Regions from separate parts of the Homo sapiens genome. Here region 1 is linked to region 2. Evidence: promoter capture Hi-C in human tissues and cell types (Jung and others, 2019). All regions are on one chromosome and are shown on one strand. The core of a region is centred on a gene start or on the middle of the fragment in contact, and the rest is flanking DNA. Distances in the headings are between cores, read along the strand shown. Region 1 has its middle 55 kb from the start of CCDC81. Region 2 holds the start of CCDC81 (coiled-coil domain containing 81).

Region 1 (4,033 bases), core at 1,092-3,591, 55 kb before region 2:
TTAAGCAGTGATCAACAATCTGGTTGGATGGTGATGAACCATCATCAAAAGCCCAATCCAGAAACTGGATTGGCCTTCTTTCTCCACAAGAGCAGGGTCATCAGTTGCTTCACATACTCTTACTATTGTGGTAACCCCGTATTTCTTAAGTTCTTCTAAAAATCTGTTTAAGGTCGAATTGGTTGGGTTGTGTATAATAAGAAATCTCATGTTCCCGTATGTGACTTCCACTGGAGCTGGGTGATTCATTGGAGCCATGTTAATTTAGTTAAAAAAAAAAAAAACTGATATGGTTACGAAAAAAATTAAAAATTTTTGAATACAGAAATGATGTCAAGAAACTGAAGTCTACGCCAATATACTCCACTTGAAATTCACAGAGCTTTGAATATGAAGTTGGTAGTGACAGGAAATGAAATGAACCTACCAACAAGAAGCTGCGGTTCTTCAATTCAGTAATTCTGGGCCAATGGAAAGGAAGTGCACCAAGGGTTACCCCATCTAGGTCAGAACTCTTGTAAAATGCTCTAATGATCTCAATTCTACACTTCTGTGTCCAGGTGACCCGCTCTGTGGGGGCTTCTTGGTGGGGCAGTAATGACTTTCCACCATTCACTTGTCCTCATAAAGTTCGTGCTGAACCTGGCAGTAATCTCCAGGGCCCTTTAGAAACTCTATAAATGCATTATCAAGAACACCACAGAAAGGAATATGTTTACTCACGAACGATGGTGGCCTAACCATACAGCTGGGCCCGCGGCGGCCGCAGCACTGCCCGGAGCAGCCGCAGCCGCAGTCGTGGCGGGGCAGCGGCGGCAGGGCACCAAACTCTAGGAGGACCAGCGGAGCGCCTCCACTGAGGCAATACGCACACGCGCAGGTGTCGTTGCGTCCCAAGTCGTCTCTTTCCTAGACTGCGCGCGACGCAGGAACCCCTTCACCAATCGTGGTTGGGCGGACCAATGAGGACGTCATCACGGCCGCCGCCGACGGGAGCCCCTTGCTGAGGCGAAGGAACGCTGGATGAATGCTGAGTTTCCTTGTCTCCCACTAGAGAGGAGAGGGGCTGAGGAGCGACGTGGGGGTGGTGGGATAGGAAGCCTGGAAGAGGCTGGAGAGAAACTGAAGGAAGACAGGTAAGGTAGCGAAAGGTTTCCCAGCCATTGACTCTGACTAGTGTATCTTTTTCTACCTGCTTCATGTTTAAGTATGTCTCTTGGGAACAACATAATATATGGAGCTTTTTTTCCGCATCAGTCCAGTCTGACAGACTTTTTTAGCTGAAAAAGTGCACGTATGCATTTTTGCCCTCTTATTTTATGCTATTTGACCCATATTTCTATATTTTTTACCTTTTCTTGACCTCTTTTGGATTACGATTTTCCCTCTACTCTTTTGGAAGTTTTCATTGGGGCTAATACTTCCTTAGCACTTATTTTAGGGTAAGCACTGTTCAAAGCTTTATATAAATGTAATACAAAACCCCTATGAATTAGATACTAGTGTCATTTCTACTGTCCTGACTTTAAAAACCTAAGCACAGAACGGTAATTTGCCCAAGGTCACACAGCTAGTAAATGGCAGAGATGAGACTTTTTTAAAAAATAATTTTAACTTTTATTATAGATTTAGGGGGTTCACGTGCACATTTGTTACATGGGTATATTGCGTGACCCAGAGTATGAATGATAATTCTGTCACTCAGATAGTGAGCATAGTACCCAAGAGGTAATTTTGCAAGGGCTAAGATTTGAATCCCGCGATTTTGGCTGTGGAGTCTCCCTCTCTAATACAGATGGTCTATTATATACCCTGTTTCTGTTCTTTTAGTGCTTAACTAACTTAGAAAAAGTCAAACATGGTTCAGAATCTTTTCCTGCCTCTTGAAGGAATTCAGCATGCTTTAACTATTAATGTCGTCAAGCATCTTAATCTTTTAACGCCACAAATTGGACATTATTGTTTGTACAAATCAATGTTTGTTTACATTTATTCATGTTATCAGTTTCTTTGCTCACTATTCCTTCTTGGAGCTCCATTCTTTCTGAGGTTACTTTCTTTTATCCAGAAGCATTTTTTTGGAGATTCCTTTGGGTATCGATACGTTGATAAATGTTTTATATATGCTAGAAAATCTCTCACTGTTGAATCCATTTCCCTTAATATTAGTAAACTGTATTTTGTTTTTTTCTTCAGGTTTCTTTTTTGGCTTTTTTCTAAAATTCTTTTATTTTCCCTTCATTGTTAAAAGTTTTGCTGGGTACACAATTCTTCACTGACATTTTCTCTCAGCCCTTTGAAGGAAAGAAGAAATAGGGCTTTATTGCAAGGGGCCATGTGAAGGTCAGGAAGCAAAGTCTAGACATTTTAGAAAATTGTAACAGCTGTTAGAGAAGAAACCTGAGAATAAGAATATCTTCAGAGGACTGAGACAAAATGTCAGTATAGAATTGTGTACTCAGAAAAACTATGTAAAAATGAAGGCAAAGTAACAGAATTTTAGGGAAAAAAACAAAAAAGAAAAGTGAAAGGGAATTTTCAAAAGCAAATTAAATCCTTTACTTTTGATAGCCTAAGCCTGTAAAAATGGTGAAGGAAAGCTATCTAGAACAGGGATTCTTGGCCTGTGGTCCAGGGGTTCTAGGAAACTTCTAACTGCATGCAAAATGTTGTATAGGAATATATACCTGTTTTTAGAAGAAGAGTATATATTTTTCATCAGATTCTTAGAAGAGTCCATGACTGTCCAAAACATTGAAAACCACTGAAATAGGGAAACCTTTGATACATTAATCTGGTCTGGCTGTGCTGTATTTCTGGAAAAGACAGAACTTGATGATAGCAAGTCGGGGCTAATTACAGAGTTAGACTAATACAAGAATAATAGTTAACAATGAGGATCATTGAAGAAGATCCAAATTATGAAGACTTGCTCAGAAATCAGCTGTTTAGTGAAGGACTATAATAAAGTTTGATTCTTAAAATGGTTGAATGATAGAAAACATATTAGACCTCATATCTATATAATTCATATAACCATGCCTCCATCTCAGTCTTGATAGACTGGAGCACACAGCCTTGACATCTGTTGTCATGACCCCTTCTTCTCTTCACCTGGCTTTTTCCCGTTGGTCATTAAAATTCAGCTTGGGCTTCATCTCCTCAAAAAGCTTTCCCTCTCTGTGCCATGGTAAACTTACCAGAAGGAATCTACCTTGTTCTTCTAACAACCAATGCACAATAATATTAGGTTTTTACCTTGTTATACAGGGGTTTTCTAGCTTTTACCTTGTTAAACCAGAGGTTTCACAATGGTATGAAACTGGAAATCATTAACAGGAGGAATTTTGGAAGATTCACAAATACATGGAAATTAAATATGCTCATGAACAATCAGCGTGCCAGTGAAGAAATTAAAAGGGAAATCTAGAAGTATCTTGAGACAAAAAAAAAGGAACACACAACATACCAAACTTTATGGAATGCAGCAAAAGCAGTTCTAAGAGGAAAGTTTATAGCAATAAATGCCTGCACCAAGAAAGAAAATTACAAATAACTAAAAGTTACACCTCTAGGAAATTTCTTTAAAACCCTAAGCCCAAGTTAGTTGAAGGAAAGAGATAATAAAGATCAGACCAGAAATAATCTAATCTCTATTTTATTTCTGCTCTGGAGATTAAAAAAAAATACAAAAGAAACTAAAAGTTCATATTTTGAAAAGATAAAATCAAACAGCCTTTAGCTAGACTAACCAAGAAAAGAAAAAGAGAAAAGACCCAAGTAAAATCAGAAATAAAGAAATCATTACAGTTGACAACACAGAAGTACAATGGATCATGAGAGACTATTATGAACAATTATATGCCAAAAACTTGAATTACCTAGAAGAAATGGATATATTCCTACACACATACAACCTGCCAAGACTGAATCATGAAGAAATAGAAAATCTGAGCAAACCAATAATGAGTGAGGAAATTGAATCATTAATACAAAGTATCTCACCAAAGAAAAGCCCAGGAACAGATGGCTT
Region 2 (3,702 bases), core at 1,047-3,546:
AAAAAAAAAACCTGTGGTACATCTAGATAATGGAATATTATTCAGAACTAAAAAGAAATGAGCTATCAAGCCACAAAAAGACATGGAGGAATATTAAATGCATATTGCTAAGTGAAAGAAGCCAATCTGAAAAGGCTTAAACTATATGATTCCAACTATATTACATTCTGGAACTGGCAAAACTATGAAGACCGTGGAAAGATCAGTGGTTTCCAGATTTTGGGATTAGGGGTAGGGGTGAATAGGCAGAACAAAGGGGAGTGAAATACTCTATATGACTATAATGATAGATACATGTCATTTTACATTTGTCCAAACTCATAAAATGTACAACACCAAGAAAGAACTCTAATGTAAACTATGAAACTTGGGTGATTTTGATGTGTCAATGTAGGTTCAATTGTAACACATGTACCACTCCGGTGAGGGATGTTGACAATGGGAGAGTCTATCCAAGTGTAGGATTAGACAGTATGTGGGACATCTCTGTCTGATATGGTTAGGCTTTGTTTCCCCACCCAAATCTCATCTTGAATTGTAATCCCTAGGTGTTGAGGGAGAGGCCTGGTGGGAGGGGATTGGATCCTGGGAGCAGTTTCCCCCATGCTGTTCTCATGATGGTGAGGGATTTCTCACAAGATCTGAGAGTTTTATAAATGGCAGTTTCCCCTGGTCCCCCGGGCTTCTCTCTCTCTCTCTCTCCTGCCGTCATGTAAGACATGCCTGCTTCCCCTTCTGCCATGATTTTAAGTTTCCTGAGGGCTCCCCCAGCCATGAAGAACTGTGAGTCAATTAAACCTCTTTCCTTTATAATGACCCAGTCTGGGATAGTATCTTCATAGCAGTGTACAAATAAACTAATATATTGTCCCTCCTTCTTAATTTACTGTGAATCTACAACTACCCTAAAAAATCATCTTTAAAAAAAGTTCTTACTGTACCATTTACCTCCTCCCTGGTATCATTTACCTAAATTGTAAATTTGCATTGATTTGTGTGATTATTTGATTAATGTGCATCTTCCCCACTAAACAGTAAATTCCAAGATGTTTGTTCACCGTAAGTTAACTAGTGCTCAGCATATAGCAGGGTTTCAGAATTCCTTGAATGACTATACATAAATTTACAAATATAGCAAATGTTTTTAAATTCATTAAGCCATTATCTTCAATGCATCTTTCAGGATGATTTGAGAGGAAAAGATAGGAGTGATGCAGGGGAAGAGAAAGAAGCAGCCATTCCTATTTGTTTTCTGCGGTCATTTGGTTAAAGCCTAAGCAACATCTCTAAGTTACAATGGTTTGATAATAATGAGTTTGCATTCCTGCAGCACCTCTCTTCTCCTGTGGTTTGCAGACAGATCTCAGCCTCACTTTGGGGTGACTCTTCTACAAACGATGCTAAAAACAGATCTTGTCTTGCTACTAACCAAGCCTAATGAGTTTTCTCTGAGAAGGTGCCAGGTCCCCTTCCAAAGTACTTACCCTGTAGCTTTTTATGATCATCTCATTTTCTTAATACAACGGCATGATGTCAAAGGCAACAAAATCAACCGTCTTTGCATGAACTCTCAAAAGGAGCCATTTAGGGTCCCTGCATCTCTTTTCTCTAGGTAGGCAAAAGGGTTGTGATCCATCCCAGCGAGTGGTGTGGGAGTGGCTGTTTTTACCTAACCTTTATTGAGCACTTACTTTGTGCTAGTCCGTTTATTGAGCACTTACTTTGTGCTGTCTACGCATCCCCTGGTTTAATCAAAACCAGAAAAGGGTCTCTGGGCGTCCAACGTGGGCAGGATGTGATTACCAGCTGGTTGTCAAGGCAACTTAGCCACGGCAGGCCAGGCCTGAGCCAGGGAATTGGGAAGTGGGTCCCCCCGCCTCCCCTGCAAGCAGATGAAGATTCAATCCCCAGGGCCACCCCCTGCTACCCAACACGCTTACCCTCCTGGCTCAGCGAGGGCAGAGTGGGCAGCACCTGCCTGCCCAGGTCCTGCAGGGCACGGGCGATCGTATCCAACATCTCCAATTTCCAGGTGACTCCGTACTGAATGTTCGATGGGTCTCTTCTTTCTTATATGGAATGTGCACAAAAATAATTTTCCCACCCTCCAGCCCCTTCTCCACGGAGCTTTGGATGTGCCTTAAAAATAAGAGTGACGAAAATCTTGAACTTCTTGACTCTTTTTCTTCTTTCTTAAATAAACTTAAACATTGGTTCTCGCCGTCCCTCCCCACTGCTCTGGCTCTCGGGCAGCTCCCACAGCAAGAGCCGCAGGAACTGATGTCCGGCACCGAGTGAGAGTGTGCAGACCCGCGCCCTCCTGACCAACGAGAGACCCAATGAGGGGTGAGCTGCAGCCTCGAGGAAGGGAGGGGCACCAGGGAGAATAGGCCCGGCAGAGGGAAGGGCGCGTTGCTGGGACGCGAGAAAGGCTCGCTCGGTTGCTAAGGCGTCAAGGCTGGGATTCGACCTCACCCCCTTAGATGGGCGGCTTCCAGGTTGCCCAGGCGATTCAGAAGCTCGAGGCAGCGAGGTTGGAAGTAACTTAAAAATAAATAAATAATGGGTTTTTACTTCTCTGACCCCGGGCAGCGAAGAAACGTGGTTAGAGTGGTAGTTTTTGTACCTTGGACAAATCTAGGAATGCCTTTTGCCCAGAGAGATCGATATTTGAGTCTCCAGATCTGTTTGAGAGTTTGAGTTTGAGCTGGAATTTGTTTCTTGGTTTGCTTTTCCCTGGGCTCTCTTCCTAGGAAATGGAGAGCTGGAGAAGTGGGGAGGAGGGAATTGACTTTTTTTAAACTACAGTCATTTCCCCCTTTTCTCTACATGTCACCAATCTCATCCTGAAGAATTGCGTGCATGCTCTCCCCTCTGCTGGTAATTATCACAAGCTGAACATACCTATGCAAAACCCATCCAGGTCAAAAAATAGAATGCTAGCACATTGCACAGATCAGCACTTCATTACCCCTCCAGTCATTAGCCAACACATACTGCAGATTCATTTTGCCTGTTGAATCTTTGGAATCATATAGTATGTATCCTTTTCTGTCTGGCTCTATTCAAATTCACATTATGTTTATGAGGTTCATCCATAGTTTCTATGGTAATAATTTCTTCATTTACACTGTTGCATATTATTCCTTTTTATGAGTATGGCACAATTTATGCATTCCACTGTTGAAGGGCATTTGCGTTGTTTCCCTTTGAGGCTACTGGGAATAAGGCTGCTGCAAACAGTCTCACAGAACACTTTTGACAGATAGATGTACTCATTTCTGATGTGTATATAACTAGGAGTAGATTCATGGGTCATGAGAAATGCATATGATCAATTTTAATAGATAATGCCAGCTAATTTTTAGTGGCAATATCAGCATTATTGTTCCACATTAAGATAATGGAATTATAAAAATAATTGTTTTACAATACATTAGATTTTGAATTAAATATAGTGGTACTTTTAATCTCTAGAAAAGCTGTCTTCAGTTCCAGAAGATGGTGGTGGATGCTAATTATTAGTGAATTGTAGATGGCTAAAGGAAGCTGTAAAAAGAATAAGGACAAAGACTTTTCTTCCAAGGTTTTACTTTCCTTTTGTCAAAGGTCTCTTGACAAAAGAGGCTGTGTAGATACATGTAACCCTGTGTTGACTAGAAACTTTTAATGAGCTATAAATATTATATATCCTGAAAATAC

What was found. The method cuts DNA at HindIII sites, captures the fragments that hold promoters and counts their contacts. A contact is called where the count stands out against the background at its distance.
Region 1: a contact is called between a fragment that was not itself captured here and the fragment with the promoter of CCDC81 in region 2, in 1 of the 25 tissues and cell types used here (aorta).

What each region holds. Positions count from the first base shown.
Region 1 is chr11:86,428,324-86,432,356 of GRCh38, reverse strand. It overlaps the pseudogene PTP4A1P6. Among named protein-coding and RNA genes, the nearest start is that of CCDC81, 55 kb to the right of the region's middle. The HindIII fragment of the contact is 3,825 bases long and covers 429-4,033 here.
Region 2 is chr11:86,373,481-86,377,182 of GRCh38, reverse strand. It overlaps CCDC81 (coiled-coil domain containing 81), which reads right to left and starts at 2,296. Exons shown (of 15, transcript NM_001156474.2): 1 at 1,941-2,296. The coding sequence starts at 2,019. All of the region lies in intron 2 of LOC105369421 (a long non-coding RNA gene), which reads left to right. RefSeq lists a silencer at 2,262-2,556. The HindIII fragment of the contact is 17,191 bases long and covers 1-3,702 here.